Regions from separate parts of the Homo sapiens genome. Here regions 2, 3 and 4 are each linked to region 1. Evidence: promoter capture Hi-C in 16 types of primary human blood cells and fetal thymus (Javierre and others, 2016). All regions are on one chromosome and are shown on one strand. The core of a region is centred on a gene start or on the middle of the fragment in contact, and the rest is flanking DNA. Distances in the headings are between cores, read along the strand shown.

What was found. The method cuts DNA at HindIII sites, captures the fragments that hold promoters and counts their contacts. A CHiCAGO score of 5 or more calls a contact.
Region 2: a fragment that was not itself captured here is called in contact with the fragment with the promoter of RTCA in region 1 in 8 of 17 cell types (total CD4 T cells, total CD8 T cells, non-activated CD4 T cells and 5 more); the score reaches 12.3 in total CD4 T cells.
Region 3: a fragment that was not itself captured here is called in contact with the fragment with the promoter of RTCA in region 1 in 3 of 17 cell types (non-activated CD4 T cells, total CD4 T cells and total CD8 T cells); the score reaches 5.4 in non-activated CD4 T cells.
Region 4: a contact is called between a fragment that was not itself captured here and the fragment with the promoter of RTCA in region 1, in 1 of 17 cell types (total CD8 T cells). The highest score is 5.1, in total CD8 T cells.

What each region holds. Positions count from the first base shown.
Region 1 is chr1:100,264,573-100,267,537 of GRCh38, reverse strand. RTCA (RNA 3'-terminal phosphate cyclase) reads right to left here and starts at 1,322. Exons shown (of 11, transcript NM_003729.4): 1 at 1,118-1,322; 2 at 914-1,014. The coding sequence starts at 1,162. It overlaps RTCA-AS1 (RTCA antisense RNA 1), which reads left to right and starts at 1,364. Exons shown (of 3, transcript NR_110435.1): 1 at 1,364-1,534; 2 at 1,621-1,709; 3 at 2,291-2,796. RefSeq lists enhancers at 1,154-1,513, 1,082-1,631. The HindIII fragment of the contact is 11,806 bases long and covers 1-2,965 here.
Region 2 is chr1:100,456,309-100,459,413 of GRCh38, reverse strand. The region is part of intron 8 of CDC14A (cell division cycle 14A); the gene reads right to left. Among named protein-coding and RNA genes, the nearest start is that of GPR88, 80 kb to the left of the region's middle. The HindIII fragment of the contact is 1,672 bases long and covers 842-2,513 here.
Region 3 is chr1:100,476,688-100,480,102 of GRCh38, reverse strand. All of the region lies in intron 10 of CDC14A (cell division cycle 14A), which reads right to left. Among named protein-coding and RNA genes, the nearest start is that of GPR88, 60 kb to the left of the region's middle. The HindIII fragment of the contact is 1,027 bases long and covers 1,630-2,656 here.
Region 4 is chr1:100,503,408-100,506,475 of GRCh38, reverse strand. All of the region lies in intron 15 of CDC14A (cell division cycle 14A), which reads right to left. Among named protein-coding and RNA genes, the nearest start is that of GPR88, 33 kb to the left of the region's middle. The HindIII fragment of the contact is 1,657 bases long and covers 590-2,246 here.

The sequences.
Region 1 (2,965 bases), core at 73-2,572:
TTGTCAGGACCTTGATCTTGGACTTCCAGCCTCCAGAACTGTGAGGAAATAAATTTCTGTTGTTTAAGCTCCACTCTGTGTGTGGCATTTTGTTATGGCAGCCCTAGCAAACTAATACAACACCTACAGCCTAATGAATTGGATTCCCCTGTTGGTGAACTGGAGGGCTGCAAACTATGACAAAGGCAATTAACATTAACATATCAGTAATTGCCTTTTGGTAATTTCAAAACTGTAGACAAAAGACTGAGACCGCTGATTTATTAAAATGTAATAAATACAGAATACATACAAAGCAATCAGTGTGGCTTCAAACCTGGGTCCTCTTCTAGCAGGTGCATGTACCTGAAGCTCAACTAGTGGCATGCCCAGCTACCCAGACAGAAGAAATAAGGTCAAATGTCAAGGTGTTTCCCTCTCCACAACAGATAATTCTGGTCATAACAGCTCTCTGGAGGTATGAATGAAGGCTGGGATAACACATCTCAGGATTCTTTCCTGTTTTATGATTCTAAAACTGACAGCAGAACCAGAATGCACTGGTTATAAAACAGGGTTTCCTCTGGCGTCACAAGCATTTCTGCCCTATCTATCTTGCCAGCTCATACGTGCTGTTCGGATATTTGGAATGCCCGGTGAGGTGAGAAAACATTTTAAAAGCTAGCTCTTCAGCAAATGACACTATTTAGTCAAACAGAGAAAACTCGAGACCATTTCTAAACTCACCCCTCCAGGCTTTCAAGACTTTACAACCCAGGCCACCGCCCAGGCAGAGTGCCCCGCCCTGGATCGCCCATACCTGCGTCTGGGACCTTCTGGGTTCCACCACTCGGACTCCCGATGCCCCAGCCCGGCAGCCCGACCCCCCGATCCCCCAGCTTCACGGCCCAACTCCCCCTCCAGCCAGATTTACCTCAGGCCTGGCGTGCTCCGGCCGGCTCGGATCTTCTGCACCCGCAAGGGGAGGCCTAGGAGACAGCTCAAGGCCGTAGAGACTCTCAGGATCTGGCCGCCCTGCAAAGGTTGGGGTACAGGGAGAAGAGAAGTAAGCACACCGGTGGTGAGAGCTCCCCTCCTTAGTTAGGCTGCAGCCCCGGCCGCTTCGCTCTGTACTCACCCCTTCCATGATGCTGCCATCGACCTCCACCCGCGGCCCCGCCATGGGGGACACCCTGGGGCCCAGCCCGCAGCGACAAAGCCTCCGCCAGAGCGGGAGAAAGAAGAGACGTTGGCTCCCGCCCAGTAGTTCAGAAACCTTGGTTCATGCCTGGGGCGCAGGAGCCTGACGAGAAAGCGGAAGAAGCGGCGCCTCTCGGGACACTGGAGTCAGCAGAAACGAACCCCCGGGTTCGCCCAGTTCCGCAGTCAGTGCGCATGCGCGTAGCTCGGCTTAAAGGAGCCGCGCTGGGAACACTGCGGTCGGGGCGAGGAAGCTGCCGGGGAAGTGAGATGACGGTCGCGGGGGTGCCCAGGAGCCCTGAAAAACTTGTGCCCTGGGCACGGCAAAATCTGCAGGTTGCAGAAAGTCTCAACTGTAAGATAACTCCTCCAGTTATCCCGCAGGCTTGTGCTTTATCTCTGTTTTGTGGGTAAATATGTGTTTATATCTGTTTTCTCGAGGATCCTGGCATACCCCGAGGTGCCGACTTTTAGAGCTGAAGATGCAAGAAAGATTGGGATCCTGCGATGCACCGAACCTGTCTCTCGAAGTGTGTGCGCCCTGGTACATTGATACTCTTGGCCTTTGGTTCCTTGCGGTGTGCGTGTTTGTGTATGCGGAGTGTGTTATCTTTCTTTCTAGGGTGACACACCATTTATTTGAGAGGCGGGAAAGGCAGAATCACTAGTTTAATATTCTGAAAAGCCAAAGTTATGCCATTTTGCTTGAGAGTGAGTGCAAGCTCTTGACTCCCAGGAACAGTGCAGCTAACAATTCACCTCAGGCGAGGGCAGAAGCAATAGCCAGCTTCTTGGTTCTGCCTGTGGCTCAGTTCCTACATAATTGAGTACCAAATAATATGTAAACCTCTAGGGAAGCAAAAAAGAGTAATTCAGCTTCTACCCCCGAAGTTATTGGAGGTATAATGGAGAGACTGAGACGTAATCAATTACAATGTCATCCTCAATAATAATTAACATGTACTGTATTTAGAGTTTATTATGGGGACAATTACAATATATTAATAATATACTGTAACAATAACAGGCAACACTTATTGAGCACTTAGGTGTTGTGCACTGCATGCATTCATAACATGATAAAGTACTTACTGTTTTTACTGTTTTACAGCTTCCTGTGTTAAACAATTTGCTACAAGGTCACACAATTTTAACTAGAAGACTGAGATGTGAACCTGGGTGGTCTGATGTGAACACCACTGTCTGGTAATCCCAACGCTCTGCTGCTTTGCGACAGAGAATGTTTTAGGGAACACACAGACTATGTACTTAACCAAATCTGGAATTTGCCGTAAGATATTAATCAGAGAAGTAATGATACTTGCATTTTAAAATGAAGGCTTTGGCAGTAGGAGAAGGGTGAATAAGAGGCTTAAGAGCCTGAAGGGAGAAATGCCAATGATACAATTATCCAGCAAGAAATAATCAGAAGTTGAAGTAAGGCAATGATGGTAGGGATGGAATATAAAAAAGCTGTACCCCTATCTGACATCTTTATTGGGGGAACCCGCCCCCAATATTTCAACGTAGGTTCTTTCTATTTTCCATAAGTGTTGGCCAGCTGAGAAATAAAGAGAGACAGTATAAAGAGAGGAATTTTACAGCTGAGCCACCGGGGGTGACATCACATATCGGTAGGACCATGATGCCCGCCTGAGTCTCAGACCAGCAAGTTTTTATTAAGGGTTTCAAAAGGGGAGGGGGTGTAAGAACAGGGAGTAGGTACAAAAGTACAAAGATCACATGCTTCAAAAGGCAAAAAGACCTTACTACTAGTAAGGGTCTA
Region 2 (3,105 bases), core at 428-2,927, 190 kb before region 1:
GTGCCCAATACTCTGCAAGGCACTTCACATAACATCTCTAATCCTCACTAGGTGCCTGCAGTGAGGATCATATTTCTCCCACTGTGATATATAGGAAAACTGATGCTCAGAGAAGCTGTGGAACTCACTGAAGTTCACGCAGCCAAAAAGGAATGGAGCCAGGCTTCAACCTGCCCAGGCTCTTTACTAAACGGGACACTGGGCTTCTCTCATTAAAGGAGCAGGCTGATGCCTCAAATGGTCGGGATTCTCAGTCTGAAGCTATCTTTCTCTCTCTCTCTCTCTCTGTGTGTGTGTGTGTGTGTGTGTGTGCGTGTGTGTGTGTGTTTAAATAGAAGTGAGAATGACAGTGACACTTAAGAGACATTTTTACAGAAAATCTGAAATCCAAAATATCTGTTTCATTCTGCTGTTATCCATCATTTATCAATTCAAAAATGTTTAACAAAAAAAAGTAGGGCTCTTCTCTTCCCCACTGTCAAAACAATGTGAATCAAAATGGCTAAAAGAAACTCCTAGTGTTCCCTATTGACACAAACACACACTTAAGGCTCTTATAATACATTCTGCCCAGATCCCAAGATTTTAGAGCTTCCTTTAGCTACCTCCTAGCAACAGCTACTTGATCACTTCTTTAAAACCTCAGCTTTTCTAACGAGCCTCTAAAATGACTTTCAGCCTCCTCAGAAAAACACAGGTTTCTCAATTCAAAAAAAAAAAAAAATTACCAAGACGTCACTGTAATTGGATCAGGTTTATTAATTCCATCACAAAATTATTTTCTCAACTTCAAAAAGCATTTACAAAGTTAAAGTACTTTACAAAAAAGTATAGTGAAGCTTCTAGTGAATATTAGATCTTAAAATGGAAATTCCAGTAAAATAGCAATATTTTACCAATGGCAGCCTTAAATGAAATTGTTCTAGGCATCATAAAAGCTGACAAAGGTGAGATAAATGTACTTTCAGATTTTTTTATGTCAATATGACAGGGCACAATACATGCATAGAATAAAATATGCATATAGAGCGATATCTTAAAGTGATTATTTCTTGATTATATGATGTTTTTAAAGAGTTTTACTCTTTATATTACTTAAATTTTCTAGAGTGAGCATGTACATCCTCTATAATAAAATTTAAAACAACACAAAATTCAGAATTAAACAGACCAATGTTTGAATCCACACGCCAACAATTACTGGCCTATGAACCTGGACAAGTTAGGTAATTCCTGTAAGCCTCCAGCTTCTCTTCTATAAAATAAATACCACCTGCTCCAGAGGGTTGTTCTGATCATTAAATAGATGATGTATATGCAAGAGGCTTAGCACCCTTCCTGGCAGGTAAGCGAATGGTGGCTATAATTTTTTCCCCATATTAAATATAGGACCAAAAATTGTTTTAAATATTTTTGACACTTATAACTTATTATACAAAATTGCGTATCCTTTTATCTAGTGATTCTATTTCTAACAATTTAGAGAAGAAACTACAGCTGCAAAAAGATGTATGAACATTTATGCCAACCACAGCAGTTTTTAAAAAGTGAAAAACTTCATCTGGTTAAATAGATGATGAAATTTAAAAAGGAAAAAAAGAGTAAGAATAAGAGATAAACAACTTAGATCTCATCCAAAAATAAATTAACAGGCTGGGCTCAGTGGCTTAAATCTGTAATCCTAGTGCTTTGGGAGGCAGGAGGATCACATGAGCCCAGCAGTTCAAGACCAGCCCGGGCAACATAGAGACCTCATCTCTACTAAAAATTAAAAAAAAAAAAAAAAACCAGCCAGGTGTGGTGGGCTGTGCCTTGTAGTCCCAGCTACTTGGGAGGCTGAGGCAGGAAGATCATTTGAGGACAGGAGTTCAAGGTTGCAATGAGCTATGATCACACCATTGCACTCCAGCTTGGGCAACAAAGCAAGAGCCTGTCTCTAAATAAACAAAAGCAAAAACCAAAAATAAATTAACACAATATGGCACAGTCATATGGTAGAACAAAATGCAATGCAGTCGTGGAAAATGATTACATGGATCTTCATTTACTGCTATAAAAAGAAGTCGTGATATGTTAAGTGAAGAAACCTGGCTGTAAGATATTAACTATGTTATGATGCCACTTTTGTTAAAAAAAAATTTTTTTCAAAATGCATGTATCCATAGAATATACAATGTCTATATACATAAAAACTTTTAAATGGCTTTTACAATTATATCTCTCAATTTCTCATTAAGAAAACGTAGTCAAACACATGAATCACAAATGGTGAAAGTCTTTCGACTTTGCCAAATACCCAACAACAAAACTACTACTGAAACAATATCCCTACTAACATTTCCTGGGCCTGAGTCAGATAATTTGCACAGAAAGCAGGTTTAATCAGTCTTATCTTGAAAGGCCAATTGTCAGAAAGCAGTTTCCTCAGGCTCTCAACATGTAATTCCTAACAACCCAAAATGACAGAGGTTAATTATTGAATGTCCAGACCAAAAAAGATTATTTAGCAAGCTTATAAGTAAGAAGATCAAATTCTGACTTCACCATAGAGGTATCCTGTTTGTGAGCTTAACTCTCTAGACCTGGATTGCCCATTCGCATGGTAAAATCATGATTCAAGCAGAGTTCCCTATTAAATATGTCACAGGTATGAAATGATAAGCATATTTATGAAAGCTCAAATTATAAAACCTAAATGCATGAATAACAATATACAATGAAACTAGATTCTAGAATATGATGATTAAAGAAAAATAAATCTTTTTTTTTTTTTAAGAGACAGGGTTTTGCTATGTTGCCGAGGCTGGTCTTGAACTTCTGGCCTTAAGCAATCCTCCCACCTCAGCCTTCCAAAGTGCTGGGATTGCAGGCACATGCCACCATGCCCAGCTGAAGAATAAATCTAGACCAGAGGTTTCAAGTTAGGTTCCCTCAGAACACTGGTATTCCACCTCTATGATCAGATAGAAAAAAAAAGGGGGGGGGATATTTTGTTCATGGATATTTTTTCAATTTTATGTACTTCTCTTGTAAATTATTCTTGAACCTCTGTTGTCTATCATTACTTGTTTTCTAGGGAATATTAGTAGATAGAAAAAATTAGTA
Region 3 (3,415 bases), core at 894-3,393, 210 kb before region 1:
GAAACAGTCTGGAAATAGTGGTGATGGCTGCACAACATTGTGAACATATATAAAGTCACTGAATTATACATATAATAATGGTTAAAATTGTAAGGTTTATGTTATACATATTTTACCATAATAAAACATTAATTTAAAAAGTCAGTCTTCTATCTAGAGTAATAACTGGCATGAGTATTTAATAATAAATTTCTGATGCAACCACTGCCAAAGATTCTGATACATACTTAATTATCCTTAATACTTGAACCCATATTAGGATTTTATTTTTGCTTAGTCAGTAGTTCCAGTATCAACTGGCAGTCAACAAATGGATCAGATAATGCAGCAGTAACTGTTGAAAATCAGAAAATTCTATAATTGAGTGTTACTACAAAAATGTCATTTTCAGTAAATAGTGTAAACTCAAACCTATGCAGTATGCTTGTAATTCTAATAAAACACTGTATCTTGTTTTGTTAAATTCTGATTTTTATAGTATTTCAGATTATAATTTCTGTATTTTAGGAAACACAAAATTTTAAACCCTTAAAATAAATAATTAAAATTTTTTAGCCTATATTCCTTGACCTACTGCATGTATCTAAAAGAAAACCATAAAAGGAAATGGTACAGGTATGCAAAGGCACACAGAGTGAATATAACGGACTATGGAGACTCACAGAAGGTGGGGTCGGGGACAAGAGAGATTAAAAAGCTACATATTGGGTACAATGTACAGTACTTAGGTGATGGGTGCACTAAAATCTCGGAGTTCATGCTATACAATTCATCCATGTAACCAATAACCACTTGTATCCCAAAAGCTATTGAAATTTAAAAAAGAATTAACTTTTTTTAAAAGGAAATGATAGAAGTCAATCTCAACTAAAACTCAAACCATTAGTGTTAGACTTTTTCAAGCATTTTCCATTTTCTAAACAGATGTTTTTCATCTTATTTTTGCTAATTCCTGAAATAAAAAAGCAATGGTTTAACTATTAATTTCTGATCTAGCTCAATCCAATTGTGAAACTTACGAAATACTATTGGCACCAAATTAAGATGTAGCCTAAGTTGATATTTACAGAGTAAGGATGAGCCAAACACCCTTGTTATTGAATATGGTTCAGGGACCAGCAGCAGCACACCACCTGGGAGCCTGTTAGAAATGCACACTCTCAGGTCTCACCTCAGACCTGCTGAATCAGAGACTGCACTGAACAAGATCCCCCAACAATTCCTAGGCATTTTCATGTTTGAGAAGCACTGAAGACAATGGAAGGCTTGCAACAAAGTTAGAATTCTGAAAATATCCAACTCAGTAGAAGCTGATGAAAACATCTATTGTAATAAAGTAGAACAGGGGAATTTTTGGTTTATGGATTTAAGAATGAAAAAGAGTTCAACCATAATACTGTGCTTCATAAAGATAACCTCATTCAAAATGGAAGCTCTGCTTTACAGAGCCAAAACTTCCTGCAAGAGCCAGATTTAGGCTTTATGTGAGTTCTCTCTGTCTCAGAAGGAAATGTAAAACAAAAACAATGCCATATTGAGCCCCATAAATAAAGGATCTCCGTGAGCTGAAAATCCCCGTGGGAGCCCCACACTAGTCCCTCAATGATCCCTTTATAATGAATGAAAGCTTTAACAGATGATGATCCCCGAGGTCACAGATAGATCTATCTGTGATATAGGTTATCTGTCACAGATAGATCTATCTATCTGTGATATAGGTTATCTATCACAGATAGATAATGATACCCAAGGTCAGGGGAACATTCACACAGCAAATGTTCAATAAATAGAATCAACCAAGTTGTAAAAGCAGCCTGACTCCACCTTTATACTTCTAAAGGTTGTCTCGGAGGACATTGAGTCCAGAGTTGGCTCAAAAACAAAAAGATGTATTTTTACATCATTTTAAGAACCTTGAGGATGTTTGATAGAAGACACATTTGGGATTCAGAATGGTATTTTTGGTTTAAGAACTTCAGCTTTAAATAGAAGAAAAACACCTGATGGTTGTTTTGCAAATAGAGAGCTTTATATCCTTTAAAAGTTTAAATATAAAATTTCAGACTGTAACAAAGGAGAGGTCAGCCAATAAGTAAATTCATCAACAACTCAAAAGGATGCTAATAAACATCTCTCTTACTGCCAGTGAATAAGAGGGCTGCTTGTTTAAGACATGGCAATCAAGCACCTGGACATATTTTGGTCCTCAAGGACTAGGAGGATATGACAAACCAGCCTTTCTAAAGTCAGAGATTTGGAATTAACATTCTCTAAAAAGCACTGATTGACTTTTCACCTTTAAAAGAATACAATCACTTTAACTTGTTCAGTCATTTTTGACAGGTGAAAACCTAACAGAAAACGTTTTTACCCTCTTATTTCTTGCTTAATGAACACGTTACTTATTCATGCTTTTGCGTCATCATTGACTTCATACTCTTCATCTCTCTGATCATTAGTTAGTCTTCAAAGCCTTGTTTTTTTCTTTTTTCTTGAAATGTCCCTGGTACCCATCTCTAAATCTTCAGTCCAACTTCTATCCTCTTTTGATAAGTCCTTGTCTCTCTGAGATGGATGATAATAGCCTCCTTTTTAGCCTCTCTGATTCCAATCTCCATCCACCCAATTCATCTTACACATTGTTGCAACTCAAGCTTCCTTAAATAACACTTAAGTCACACGACTCCTCTATATGCTCTTATTCATCATACTTTCTAATTTGGAGTATTTGGAATTAAATACTCCAAATTAGAAAGTATGATGAATAAGAGAAGTTCAGAATATGCATGTTCATCACTAGGATCTGCATCTCCTGCTGTACATATTTGCTATCTATACAAAGCAGATGTATTAATTTCCTATGGATATTGTAAAGCATTACCGTAAATGTGGTGGTTTAAAAGAACACCAGTTTACTTTCTTACAGATCTGGAGTTGGAAGTCTGAAATCAGTTTCACTGAGCTAAAGCAGTGACAGTAGGCAGAGCTGGTTCCATATGGAGGCTTTGAGGAGATAATTTGTTTCCTTGCCTTTTTCAATTTACAGTGGCTGCCCATATTCCTTGGCTTATGGCTCCTTACTCCATCTTTAAAATGCATCAGTCCAATCTGTTTCAGTCATCACATCGGCTTCTCCTCTAAATGGCTCCCCCTGGGTCCCTCTTCTAAGGACACTGTGATTAATTGGGCCCACCCAAACAATCCGGGATAATCTCCCCACATCAACTTCCTTAACTTAATCACTTCTGCAAAGTCCCTTTTTCCATATACAGTAACATTCACAGCTGGTTCACAGGGATTAAAATATGCCTGTATTTGGGGAGACATTATTCAGACTGCCACAGCAGATTTCATGCCGAAAATTATAGGCAGACTAATTACCTTAAAATATAAGGCAATAACACCATTTCTGGAA
Region 4 (3,068 bases), core at 169-2,668, 240 kb before region 1:
TCATAACAATTTGATGCTTTGTCAAGTAGCATTCTCAGGTCCCCTTGGGAAGGGAAAAAAAATCGCAATGTTGAATGAAGGCCAAAGATGTGGTTCAATACTGAGATTGAGCTCATGTTCTTGATATGTAGTTAGTATCCCTTAGCTGAAAACTTACATCAAATCTAAAGCAATGCCACAACAAAGAGGAAGGATGAAAAACCACAGCAACATAAATATACAACAAGAGGATAGAAAGCTAGTACCTTTAACTGTAATAAATATTAACACCTAGTTAATATTTAACAATATTAATATGAATTAATAAATGAATATTGATATAGTTTGGATGTTTTATCCCCTCCAAATGTCCTGTTGAAATGTGACTCCAGTGTTGGAGGTGGGGCTAGTGGGAGGTACTTGGGTCATGGCGGTGGATCCTTCATGAATGGCTTTGTGCTGTCCTCCCAGTAATGAGTGAGTTCCCACTCTATGAGTTCACATGAGATCTGGTGGTTTAAAAGAGCCTCGCACATCCTCCCTTTCTCTTGTTCCCTCTTGCCATGTGATACACAAGATCCCCTTTTGCCTTCCACCATGATTGTAAGCTTCCTGAGGACTCACGCAAAGCCAAGCAGGTTGTTGGTGCCATGCTCGTACAGCCCACAGAATTGTGAGCCAAATAAACCATTTTTCTTTATGAATTACCCAGCCTCAGGTATTTCTTAATAGCGACAAAAGCAGACGAATAAAAATGTCCTATTTAAAATCAGGACAAGATGACCAATTTTTAAAATGGAGAACAGGCAGAGGGAAAAGACAACAAGTTGATATCGGGAAACACTACTACATACCACTGGAAAGTATCAGCACTTTACTGGGAATGGATATTCAAACAATCAGTAAGTAGCTTATCACTGTCAGCACTAACATTATCCCAAAGTACAAATGAACCATGCTTTAGTGCACTGCCAATCACTCAGATTTTCATCAAACTGGTTATTTTATAAAGCTAGATTCTAATATTTTGATCTCATTCCAGGTCCTACTTTAAGGACCAATAATTCCTTAAAACACATACGTATTCTGCCTGATGTTAGAACACAGAAGAACTTAACCTATTCATAGGCTACCAAGATTGTTCTTACGTTTGTCAAATTTGAGGTGGAAAACATCCAGAGTCTTCATAACCAAAGAGCAGCATTAACCAACTGAGTATAAAAATGCTACTAACACTAGAAAAGAGAACTACATTTAAGCCAACTTCAACTATCATATAAGAATGCTGAGGGAAAGTAGGAAGCACACAATATTTCATTTCCATTTTGCTTTCAACTTTCAACCAAATGAGTATTTTAATTTTTAATTCCCTCCTGTGACCGGTACTGTGTTAGAAACCATGAACTATAAAAGAACTTTTTGAAATGTCTGCAAAAGAAGTTTAAATTTGGAGACAATTCTTACATACACAGACAATATGTAAACAAATATAGATGTTCATGTATATAATAGCATACATGATAAAATAAAGTATTAATTATAGGGTGGATTCCACTTACTGGGGAGAGCTTCACAGAAGACATGGGAGGTAATATATGTCTTTATTTAAAGATGAGAAATTGGTAAGGAGAGCAGGGGGCTTCCAAGAAAGGGCTTCCTAAAGACTAGCAGTAGGCATGAACACTGTGGGAGAAGAAAACAAGAGAATAAGCAAGGTAAATGCTGGTGCAAAGATACAATACTACAGAAATGCAGTACAGAGGGCCTGAAAGCTCAACAAAGAAAGTCAGTATTTATGTTCTAGCACTAAGGGACCACTGGTCATTTCTGAACAGGGAAATAAGATGTTGAAATCTATATCTCTTATCTGGCAATGCTTTAAAGCAGGGGTTGGCAAACTGCAGCTCACTATCCAAATGCAACCCACCACCTATTTTTGTTAATAAAGTTTTATTTAATATTAGCCACACTTTTCGTTTATGTATTGAGTTGAATAGTTGGGACACAAAGCTAAAAATCTTTACTATCTGGCCCTTTACAGAAAAAGTTTGCCAACCCTACTTTAAAGTAAGAATTAAAGGTGGAAAGAGACAAGTTAGGAAGATCATCAAAGACTCAAACACAACAGGGATGAGGAAGCAACTGAATGGAGAAGAAAGGAAAAATTCCAAGAGACAATGGCACCACTGACATTACCTACAACCTTCACTATGAGAATATCCCTGCAAATGTTTGAAGATTAAGATAGAAGAGTGCATAACAAAGCTTATTACAGGCTATAATAAGTTTCACTTATTTGTATAGTTTTATTATTAAAGCTACAGAGCATTCATTCATTTAACCATCCATCATTTTATCCAATCAACAAATACTTAATGAGTGCCTAATATATGCCATGCACAGGGCACATAACTATAAAAACCAGAGGCACCATCCCTGCCCTCACAAAGCATATAGTCTAGTGGATTATGCAAATTCTGAGTGAAAAAGAGTATTCTGATTTAGACCAAGGTGGGATGTAGAGAGGCTTATGGGAGAAGCAACATGAACTAACTCAGAGTTGGGGGTCAGGTAAGGTCAATGTAGATGACTAGTAATCCAGTGATTAAGTGTCATAAAAATAAAGCATAGCAAATATTCAAGACAGATACCACAAGTAATTTCAATTTAATAAAATACTTCCACCCCACCTACACCATAATCACATGTCCCTCATTTCTTAAGCATTTGAAAACTCCTCTGAGTGTCAGGGAGTGAAACTCATTTTTTACAGTAAGTGGGTCAACAAAAATGTAACCTTGTGTGTGTGCATTGCACAGGGCAGTAGAAACTGCAAGACTAGCAAAAGAGGACAAATTAATAAAAATAAAATCTGACTGTTCCTCAGCATTCTGTCACAACCATAAGGAATCCTTAACATTTGTTCTTGTTTTCTGTGTTAAACGATTTAATGACAGAATAAGGAAATCATTTTTACATTTTTCTGGGGGCTGAACTGCTGCAAAAAGTGAGTGAGCAATTGCAGCTTTCAAAAGAGATGCTAATTGTAGCTTTTAAAATATTAGATTCCCTCTAAATACCCATAACCC